3 separate regions of the Homo sapiens genome follow, and all the other regions are linked to region 2. The links are contacts of gene promoters, found by promoter capture Hi-C in human tissues and cell types (Jung and others, 2019). All regions are on one chromosome and are shown on one strand. Each heading gives the region's core, a stretch centred on a gene start or on the middle of the fragment in contact. The rest is flanking DNA. Distances are from core to core; before and after follow the strand shown.

The links. The method cuts DNA at HindIII sites, captures the fragments that hold promoters and counts their contacts. A contact is called where the count stands out against the background at its distance.
Region 1: a fragment that was not itself captured here is called in contact with the fragment with the promoter of ABRA in region 2 in 1 of the 25 tissues and cell types used here (dorsolateral prefrontal cortex).
Region 3: a contact is called between a fragment that was not itself captured here and the fragment with the promoter of ABRA in region 2, in 1 of the 25 tissues and cell types used here (mesenchymal stem cells).

Annotation. Positions count from the first base shown.
Region 1 is chr8:107,926,346-107,930,174 of GRCh38, forward strand. The region is part of intron 5 of RSPO2 (R-spondin 2); the gene reads right to left. Among named protein-coding and RNA genes, the nearest start is that of RSPO2, 160 kb to the right of the region's middle. The HindIII fragment of the contact is 3,185 bases long and covers 1-3,176 here.
Region 2 is chr8:106,768,871-106,772,618 of GRCh38, forward strand. ABRA (actin binding Rho activating protein) reads right to left here and starts at 1,374. Exons shown (of 2, transcript NM_139166.5): 1 at 653-1,374. The coding sequence starts at 1,320. The HindIII fragment of the contact is 12,258 bases long and covers 1-3,748 here.
Region 3 is chr8:107,898,169-107,901,911 of GRCh38, forward strand. RSPO2 (R-spondin 2) reads right to left here. Exons shown (of 6, transcript NM_178565.5): 6 at 1,148-3,022. The coding sequence ends at 2,907. Among named protein-coding and RNA genes, the nearest start is that of RSPO2, 180 kb to the right of the region's middle. The HindIII fragment of the contact is 7,092 bases long and covers 1-3,743 here.

The DNA of each region.
Region 1 (3,829 bases), core at 334-2,833, 1.2 Mb after region 2:
TAGGTTGCCTGTTCACTCTGATGGTAGTTTCTTTTGCTGTGCAGAAGCTCTTTAGTTTAATTAGATCCCATTTGTCAATTTTGGCTTTTGTTGCCATTGCTTTCGGTGTTTTAGACATGAAGTCCTTGCCCATGCCTATGTCCAGAATAGTATTGCCTAGGTTTTCTTCTAGGGTTTTTATGGTTTTAGGTCTAACGTTTAAGTCTTTAATCCATCTTAACTTTTATATAAGGTGTAAGAAGGGATCCAGTTTCAGCTTTCTATATATGGCTAGCCAGTTTTCCCATCACCATTTATTAAATAGGGAATCCTTTCCCCATTGCTTGTTTTTCTCAGGTTTGTCAAAGATCAGTTAGTTGTAGATACGTGGTATTAGTTCTGAGGGCTCTGTTCTGTTCCATTGGTCAATATCTCTATTTTGGTACCAGTACCATGCTGTTTTGGTTACTGTAGCCTTGTAGTATAGTTTGAAGTCAGGTAGCATGATGCCTCCAGCTTTGTTCTTTTGGCTTAGGATTGACTTAGCAATGCGAGCTCTTTTTTGGTTCCATATGAACTTTAAAGTAGTTTTTTCCAATTCTGTGAAGAAAGTCATTGGTAGCTTGATGGGGATGGCATTGAATCTATAAATTACCTTGGGCAGTATGGCCATTTTCACGATATTGATTCTTCCTATCCATGAGCATGGAATGTTCTTCCATTTGTTTGTGTCCTCTTTTATTTCATTGAGCAGTGGTTTATAGTTCTCCTTGAAGAGGTCCTTCACATCCCTTGTAAGTTGGATTCCTAGGTATTTTATTCTCTTTGAAGCAATTGTGAATGGGAGTTCACTCATGATTTTGCTCTGTGTTTGTCTGTTATTGGTGTATAAGAATGCTTGTGATTTTTGTACATTGATTTTGTATCCTGAGACTTTGCTGAAGTTGCTTATCAGCTTCAGGAGATTTTGGGCTGAGAAGATGGGGTTTTCTAGATATACAATCATGTCATCTGCAAACAGGGACAATTTGACTTCCTCTTTTCCTAATTGAATACCCTTTATTTCTTTCTCCTGCCTGATTGCCCTGGCCAGAACTTCCAACACTATGTTGGATAGGAGTGGTGAGAGAGGGCATCCCTGTCTTGTGCCAGTTTTCAAAGGGAATGCTTCCAGTTTTTGCCCATTCAGTATGATATTGGCTGTGGGTTTGTCATAAATAGCTCTTATTATTTTGAGATACGTCCCATCAATACCTAATTTATTGAGAGTTTTTAGCATGAAGGGCTACTGAATTTTGTCAAAGGCCTTTTCTGCATCTATTGAGATAATCATGTGGTTTTTGTCTTTGGTTCCGTTTATATGCTGGATTACATTTATTGGTTTGCATATGTTGAACCAGCCTTGCATCCCAGGGATGAATCCCACTTGATCATGGTGGATAAGCTTTTTGATGTACTGCTGGATTCGGTTTTCCAGTATTTTATTGAGGATTTTTGTATCGATGTTCATCAGAGGCCAGTGATCATTAATCCTATGTTCAAATACTCTGTATTACAGATGTGCAACTAAGGTTTATATAATGGAGAGCAACTCACATGTCCAATTCTGTTTTGTTTACACCAATGGTAACTAGCAAATTCTAAAATTCCTAACTAATCAGAAATATTAAATATAGACCAAAAAAATCACTGTGCAGGTAAAGACCTAGAGGGCTCATCTGCTCTATATATATGCCTTAAAATATGTATACCTGCATTTATCCTGGAAAAAGTATTTTAGAGACCCATGAGAATACTTAAGTATTCTTAATAACCTTAAGTGCTAAGGATCTCTTGATTATTTGAACTCTGAACCCCCTTCTGTCGTTACTTCAGTAGTTTCTGAGAGAGAAAAATAGCCACCAGGTTCCATATAATCTCTACATTCCTTAAACCTTATTAGATCATCCTTTACCCTTTTAAAAAATACATAGTTAACAGATGTACTGCTTAGCTGACAAAGTTTGAATAATTAGCTTTTTATATAAACACATACTGCCTATTCTTCTTTTGAAATGTCATTTTTATTTTAAACAAAAGACTAAAAATTTAATCTTGCCAAAGTATTCCAGATTACACTGTAAAGACTTCTCCAACACTGTGCTTCTAAGCCTAACCTTTTGATTCCCTTTAGTAAAGGCACTTAGATTACATAAAAGTAACAGAACTAGGAGAAATGCCATTCCAAATTTTGATGTATGGAATGTTTAAAAGTGGTGAGTTCCTAAAGTGGATGCTTTCCAACAATCATCTTAATTCAGGAGAGCAATATAACAGACAAGTTTAGAACATGCTCTTTGGAGACTGAGCCTTGGTTTCAGCCTCAGCTCTGCCACTGTAACTTATCCAAAGCTTCATAGCGGGTATCTTCTCTAGGGCTTCAGTTTCTCATCTGTGAAGTGTGAGAAATAGTAGTTCCTATGAGATAAAGTTGGCGTTATGATTAAATAAGGAAATTAAGTAAAAGTTTAGTCCGGTTCATGGCGTATTGTGAGCATCAGTACATGTTAGTGGTGGTGGTGATGGTAGTTGGTGGTGATAATAACAATGACAGTGACAGAGAATGTCAATGAGACCAGAAGATCAAGAATAGATTTTCTTAGCCTTCCTTAAACCAACCATATAAATCAATCTAACTCAGAGCCAAATCACAAGAAAGGCTGGACCGCATGCCCTGACACTGTTGCAAGGCCAATGCCACGGCTGCTGCCACAGCTCAGTCACACCATGGACTGTGAGTTGTCTGACTGGTAGTAGACGTCTCTCTTCCTACCTCTGATGGATGGTAATGGCTGCTTTGGATGGGATCCATTTTACATCCTCTGACTTAAACAGCTTTGCAAAAGTAATTTTTCATTGTTTTGAGAGGATAAGTAACACTACAGAAGTACTCATGTCCAACGAAGTGAGGATCATACAACAAAAGGAAAACACCCAAAGGAAAACAAATGTGTAGAGGAGATAAATTCACTTCAGGATGGATGTTTACCAAAAAGAAATTACATCCACAATTCTCGCAGTTGGGGACCAATGGCAAGTTACATGCCCCCTGTTTAGCAGCTGAAAGCCAGCCAGATCCTGTGGCTTGGCTCTCTCACAAGCTTTAAATACACGAACTCGCATAACAGCACCCAAGCAAGCAAATAATATGCACACTGCTCTTGGCTAAGAAGAGAGAGAGAGGGAGGACAGAGAACTTTTTCAATAACTACAAGCTTGGAGAGCTTATACAGATAAATGGGTTCAGTTTCTGCTGAGGAAGAAAACATTCAATTAAGACTTCAAAATTGCTGAAGGATACTTTAAAACACAGTGTCAGTGTCTGTCTCTCACCTTAGAACTATCTAGTATATATTATAGGAAACTTAGAACAGTTAGAGATTTTAGTTTTTCAGTAACTGCTTTTCTTCTATTTCTTCCACCTATCCAAATAGGTTTTCTACCATGAAGAAAAATGCAAAGCAATTCCGTCTGTATTTATTAACTCTAATTTTTAAAGAAGTAACAGTATAAGGCACAATGTCTGCCAGACTGGATTACCTCACCCCAATTCAGTTCTAGTATTCATAGAAAAAAATCTATGCATCTATTTGCCTACTTAGTTTAAGATTTTCAGGTGATTCTGATGTTCTCCTTGGTTTAAGAACCACTTCTCTAGATCAGTACCATTAAGATCATTTTATCTATATTCCTTAGTGGACTGACATTATCAACATCATTGCTAATTACCATTAATATGCGCCCATGTACAACATCAAGCATTTCACATGTATTGACTTACTTGGTATTCATTACAAGTTTTGACATAGGT
Region 2 (3,748 bases), core at 124-2,623:
AAGTGATCCGCCCTCCTCAGCCTCCCAAAGTGCTGAGATTACAGGCTGAGCCACTGCGCCCAGCTGATGAAATCACCTTTAAAAATGACTAGTTAGGGGCAGAACTAGGATTTGAACTTGGGTCTGTCTGACTTCATTCAGAGCCTGCTTTCAAATTAGACAGCAGCCTCCACCTGTTTAGAGTCAGAGATTTGTATTCCATGGGTGTTATTGAAGCAGACGTATCTCCTGATAATAGCATAGACATTTGGGACAAGGTAAAAGTTTCCCCAATGAGTCTATCAGAAACCACTCTTATCTCTAAAGAAATAAGCCAATTTGTTACTCATTATAGAACTGACTTAAAGAATTCACGAAAAACAGGCTTCCCTCTCTGATGGCTTCATCTTTGTTGAGGCTAAGACTTGAGTGTTCAGTTCAAAACAAAAACGAGAAACAAAATAGCGCAGGCCCTGACCAAAAGGTCCATGTCTAAGGTTGGCACTGACCTTCAGCCCAGGGACATCCCTCCTCTACAGTACTCACTGCCTGTCCAGTCTTTGAGATTCTCACTCTAACCCTGGCAGGACTTCATCTGCTGCCTGGATTCCCAGACTTGGTTGGGGCTCAATAGTGATCCTGACACAAGGAGTGGGAGAATGCATTCACTTACTGGGAGGGCAAGGGGCGCTTGATCCTGACCACAGCCACCTGCACTCCATCCTGCTCGGGCCTCTCCTCAGCCTCTCCTCCATAGCCGCTGTCCTCTGTGTCTACGCTGTCACTCCTCCATGTGGGCTCCTCCTGCTCCATCACTCTCCAGCCCTTGGTTAGCTCAGACACCAGGTTGGCACATTTTCTCCTCCGCGTTGGGGAGCCGTGGCTGTGGAGGATTCTGTCAATGTCATTCTCTGGCTGCCCAGGTTCAAGCACACCAGCATCCCTCTCGTACCTGTGGCTGAGGTGGCTCACGTCCCCTCCTCTCTCATAAGTCTTGCTGACCACCGTTTTGGACACCTCTTTCTTTTTGATGTGAGAAACCTCAGGGGCTTTCTCTGAGCTTTGTCCATCTCCATGTCCTTCTGGCAGGCGGGGTGGCGACTTTGGGGCACTCTGAGCTTTCTGGTGTGAAGTAGGGGGTGTGATTGGTTTAGGAGCTTGAGGTGAGTCCTGGGTCCCTCCCGGCAGCCAGCCTGTAGGCTCCTGGGCCTGCCTGATGCTGTTCTCATTCGCCCACTGCTGCCAACCTCGGGCCAAGCTGATGACCAGGGTGGCTGTGCGTATCTTCCGGAGGGCGCTCTTGGCTGGGCCCTCCCCGCTTTCCTTTTCGCCCGGAGCCATGCTGCCCACCTGTCTTTCTCTGCTGATAGCCTGGACACTGGCTAAAATGAGTGTGGTCCAGTGGAGTGCCTGGGATTTAAATAGAAGCAGGGTGCGGGGTGGGAAGGAGAGCTTAGTGACGATGGAAACTATGTGAAGCATTTCTTGCCAAGATGTGGCGCCTTTGCCCTGATGGTGTTCTTTTTATAAATCATGACAGCTCCAGTTTCATCACGGCAGAGGGACATCTCTGCTGGTAAGGAACAGTGATATGCTCACTCTCTTCTCCAAGTGCCAGAGTGGAAATTACTAGATCAAGTCATGTGCTCAGCCTTACGTTTGTCTGACCTTAATATGGTCCTACCATTTATAGGTGCATACATATTATCCTGGGAACATTATAGGATTGTTCCCACTTAAACCCCAGCAGCCCTCAGTACAGCTCCTAATTAGTTCCACTTTATAGCTAAGTAAAATAAAATCTAACTTCCAGCAGCTAATAAAATATGAGATTCAAATCCATCTCTGTGTAATTCAAAGCGTGTGCCTCCTTTTATTCCAGTTATCAAAGATCCTAAGTTGCCTTTTTCTTTTTCATTCAACTCCATTAGAAATAGACCTTAGAAAATCAACTCATCCAATCTTCATTTTCCAAATGAGAAAATTGAAGCCCAGATACGAGAAAGACCAAAGTCCAGATAGTCAAAGACTAATTACTTTCTAGTCCCAACTTTGAACTATTGTATAGATAACTCATATTAAAATACAAAAAGGGAGTCAAAATTTTGGTCCAATCATTAAAAAATGTTTTTAAAACCTGTATACACATTGGATTTTAGAAATTATTATTGGAGGCCGGGCGAGGTGGCTCACGCCTGTAATCCCAGCACTTTGGGAGGCCGAGGCGGGCAGATCACGAGGTCAGGAGATCGAGACCATCCTGGCTAACATGGTGAAACCCCGTCTCTACTAAAAATACAAAAAATTAGCCGGGCGTAGTGGCGGGCGCCTGTAGTCCCAGCTACTCGGGAGGCTGAGGCAGAAGAATCCTGTGAACCCGGGAGGCGGAGCTTGCAGTGAGCGGAGATCGAGCCACTGCACTCCAGCCTGGGTGACGAGCGAGACTCCGTCTCAAAAAAAAGAAAGAAAGAAAGAAAGAAATTATTGTTGGAATACATATTTTGAAATACTTTGTTTGAAAAGATCATCTAAGGACAGAATTCTAAGGACAGAATAAATGAAAGCTATCGGTAGCTCACTTCTTATCCCCATCCCGCCTACCCTTACCGTTTGGTTTGTGGTTGTTGTTTTGTTTTGTTTTTTGAGATAAGGTCTTGCTGTGTCCCCAGGCTGGAGTGCAGTGGTGTGATGATGGCTCACTGCAGCCTTGACCTCCTGTGCTCAATCAGTCCTCCTGCCTCAGTCTCCCAAGCAGCTGGGAATACAAGCATGAGCCACCATGCCTAGCTAATTGTTTTTGTTTTTGTTTTATATAGACGGAGTCTCGCTATGTTGCCCAGGCTGGTCTCAAACTCCTGAGCTTGTGCAGTCTTCCCACCTTGGCCTCCCAAAGTGCTGGGATGACAGATGTGAGCCCCCACGTCTGGCCCCTTTTGTTTTTAGTAACACAATCTTCCTTAGCAGGACTTTATGTTCATGTAGGCAAAGACAGTTTTTCAACTCTCACAAGAGGGACTGAAATATAATATTTTTTTAAAAGGACTGGAAAGACAAGCATGTGGACAGAAAGAGAAACATCTATGCAGTGTATTAAACCAGATAAAAATGTCCAGGGCTCAGCAATGAATAATTTCTTAAAGTAAGACGGAATTTTTTTTCATTCAACAGGTCTGTTGGCTTTAAAACTATATCCTTTCCTTCAGTCTTGCATGCAAGTAACCATACTGATTGAAAACTGCTGTTTAAGAGCACAAAAAGGTATAAAAGTTAATTATTTCAGAGAGTGAGACATTTATTTTGGAAAAAAGTTGGTATTAGTTTTTTGTTGTTGTTGTTGTTTTGTTTTTTTGTTTGAGACGGAGTCTCGCTCTGTCGCCGAGGCTGGAGTGCAGTGGCGCGATCTCGGCTCACCGCAAGCTCCGCCTCCCAGGTTCACACCATTCTCCTGCCTCAGCCTCTGGAGTAGCTGGGACTACAGGAGCCCGCCACCACGCCCGGCTAATTTTTTTGTATTTTTAGCAGAGACAGGGTTTCACCGTGTTAGCCAGGATGGTCTTGATCTCCTGGCCTCGTGATCCTCCTTCCTCGGCCTTCCAAAGTGCTGGGATTACAGGCGCGAGCCACCGCGCCCGGCCGCTATTCGTTTTTCATCGTGTGGGTTATTTACCTCTTAGGATAAAAAAAATTGGGAAGTGATTTAATACTTAATCTACAGATCTGTCAGAGGTGTTTCCAGAGTTCAACGGCATCTGATAACATTAACTGAGGG
Region 3 (3,743 bases), core at 381-2,880, 1.1 Mb after region 2:
ACCACAGAAAACTGTGTTACCCAGACTCCCTTGCCTACTGGCTTCTGGGCAGCTTTGGGCAATAGCGGGCACTGGTGGAAGACTGGAGGTTGGGAGATAGGGAGAAGCCAGGCTATTTCCTCCTCTATGAATTTGCCTCAAGCAGCATTTCTCACAGCAACAAGATCATCTACAATATTTCAGCTCCTACCAAACAAGCTTTCTGTCCTCAGTTCCAGCTCCTTCTGTGGTTATAGCTCTAGCCTCAGCTATGGTTCTAAGTCTAGCTGGGCACCTGTGGCTTCTAGATTTTGGAAACTCCACCTCTTCTTGTAATTCCTCTTGCATTAGGGGTAAAATAGTGCCTCCTGCTGTTGCTAATCTCTGGGTCATCTTGGCAACATATTTTGGCTTCGTGTCTCCTTTATCACCTGTATAACCAATTTCTGGTGTTAAATTCCCCATTTGAAACACCCCGACTAGTTTATTTCCTTGATTGCACCCGTACTGATTGATAGAGGAAAGAATTCAGTTTTGTGTGTATCTGTGTGTGTATGCTGCTTATATCAGGGAGAGTCAGAAATCAAGCAGATGTAAATGTTTTAGCAAATAATGCCCAGGCACCAAGCAATAGATTAGATTGATACTTTTCATAAATGTTCTATTTTGTTAATAAGGAGAAATCAATATTTTTTAAAAGAATCTAAATAGCCATTGAAAGATGTAATAGGTGACCAACTTGTATAGTACTTAGTATATAGAATGCCGTGGTGACCATACTTTACACATTTTACCTAATTATATCCTTAAAGTACAACCCTGTATATATTTCCCTGTATATATTTTCATTTGGTCCTTAAAACACAGCCCCTAGAGGCAGATGATAATGTGATCCCCATTTCACAGATAAGGAAACTGAGAGTGGAGGGATTAAGTAATTTTCACAGGCCACTCTCAGTCTGGATTAGAACTCGGGCACTTGGACTCTAGTTTACAGTTATCTAGTTTATCTATAAACTAGTTAGTTAGTGTTCTAGATGTAGTTACCAATATAGGTTTTTAAAGATTTGCCTGTCTTTTTTAAAGGGCTGTTATTTTGGGGGTAGAACAAAGTACTGAGTTATTTCTAAATGTATCTCTAAAGTAAAAAAGAAATCTCCACAAAAAATAATTTTGAAGTTTTTAATGCACAAAAAAGAACATCCCAGGAACAACAGGTATTGACTTATTAACGATGAAGCACTATATAAGGAGACCCCCTCCCCACTTAGTAAATGGGAAAATAGTGTAAATAGACATGAAAGGAGGTAACACTTCAGGATTAAATGTAAACCCTAAAGTTGTATACAACATTCATATGTGGCTTATTATCTCATAGCAATATTTTCATAACGATGTATATGATATTTATCCTTATTGGTAAGATGCTTTTGAATCAAAAGTTAAAAACACTGAAGAGGTAGTTTTGCCAATGCAAGGTGAAAAAAAAAAGGCTTTACCTTGCTTTGTTTCAAAATCCACAACCATTATTTTTCTGTTCTAATTTTCTCCTGGATCAGCCAGGAAGATAATCATGCTTTGTGAAAAAGCCAATTCACAACCTTCTAAAAACTGGTTCCCCTAAAAGGACAATGATGTGTTTGAAACAACTGCTCTGAAAGTCACCTGGGAAGTTTCCATAGTGTTCCTCTCCATCTTGGATCTGAAACAGATTCTGGCTCAACAGAAACCTGTTAAGATCTGACTGGCAGTCACAGAAATTCATCCTTTTATCTCCTAAAATTCTATGCCCAGGCTCATGGTAGTAGCTTCTTCAGTGACCCAAGAACATTGGTAGGTGCCTTGTCATTTAAAGCCAGGGATTGCTTTAAATTTGGGGGAAAAAAATTGCAGTCAGAAATAATGTTTGTTTGGACAATTCTGTAGCTGGCCTGTGAAACTGGCTACAAGTGACTGGATATAGTCCCTCATGTTTTCAGTTGTGTTTCATCAAAGTCATCACATCTTAGACTCAAAGGCAGTTTGGGCTTCTGATTGCCAGATGCCGCCTGCTGCTTTATCTATATGTGTGGGACATGTGGAGTGGAGAAGGTCTACCCAATATGCAAACTCTTTGACACTGGTCATTTGACTCTATATACAAAAACTAGTTTATCCTACCCTTACAATGAGAAATAAGCCCACAATGAGGGGAAAAAAAAAAAGTTTCAAGAGGCAACAAAACAAGTGTCAATTCCCCAAACTAGAAAAGTCATTTATCAGACAATGGGTTAGGAACCACTAGAAACAAAGTGGCATCATATTAATCAGGTATGACTTGTTACCCACAAGAAAGCATAAATATACAGTAAATAAGAGCTTTATATGTAGCTCCTGCAGTATATGTACATATTAGGGCTGCAGTGAAACTGAGCAGGAATTTCCAGAGCATATCCTCAGCTAAAAGCAGTTTCATCGCACAACAGTGTGAAGGTAACATGCTGAGAATACCATGTGGTAACACTAAGCAGATATCCACACAAACATATCCTTGAAAATGCACAATGTGAGAAATAAAGGTCACGAGTGAGTAGCGCATTGCCTGCCAAGCATCTTCTTTCACATAAATAGGCACAAGTCCGTCCTCCAGCGGTGTTCTGCAGCCTCACACCTCTAGCATGTCCATGGTGCCGGGGACGGATTCTCTCAGCACACACTGAGCCAAGTCACGGGCTGTGCACTTACTCCTGCCTTCACAGTCTCCAGATTCAAATCAAAGCATAAATAACACAGGGGCCATGCTGGTGGTGCTTCCTTTCACCATGTTACTGGGAACAGATACTGGGCAGAGCAGCACAAAGGCTGCACACCAGTGTGCAGGAGTGGAGAGTAGCTTTGTGCACATTTGCAAAAACAAAAACCCCTAAAAATCTACCGGATCTCTTGTTTTATTGGTTAGCTCTGTCTGTAGCTAGGAAGACGCTGTGTTGCTCCTGGGCCCTTTCTATCAGCTTCCTTTTCTTTTTCTTGTTCCTCTTCTCCTTCGCCTTTGGTGTTCTCTTCCCTGCAATGAAGGAAAGAAAAGAAGAGATGTCAGAAATGGCTCTTTCTCTAGGAAAGAAAACACAAAAATATTGGGAGTTTTGCACAAAGCCCATCTGGAAAACATCACCTATGGAAAAAGCCTCAAAGAGAAAATTGTTCACATTAATTTTGACAGAATAATAATAATTTACTAAATTAGATATGCTGTCTAAAACAGAGACTGATTTTCCTGTTACAGGGAACTGGCATATTGAAAAACCTCCCAGTGGCCTGATCCGTCTTTCAAATATCATCCTGCCACAAAAATTCCATTTATTCCCTCCTACTTCTAACAATGCTACCCTTTTCTACACATCTTTACATCTTACTACTGCTCCACGTGTCAGTGGGTCAAAAGAAAATAAGCATCTATCTATAGCAAACATACCAGAAGTTTCAAACTCCTCTCTCCCTTTCCCCATGGGGGAAAAAGAGTCTTGCTTTTAACATTATTTCCTCCATATTCCAAATACCAATGTATAAAATGACATATGTGCAATCCTTTATTTTCTATAAAAATTCATGGAGACATCATTCATTATATACCTTATGGCTTCTTATCCAAATCCCCTGGACAAGTTGTTGTTATTAATGGAGAGCAAGAAGAATGCTTATTTGTTTTGATAAACTGGTGGTATGTGTCTAACTACCAGACGATCATACCAAGTATTTCTCTTCTTTGCCTTAGCCACTAGGAAGCC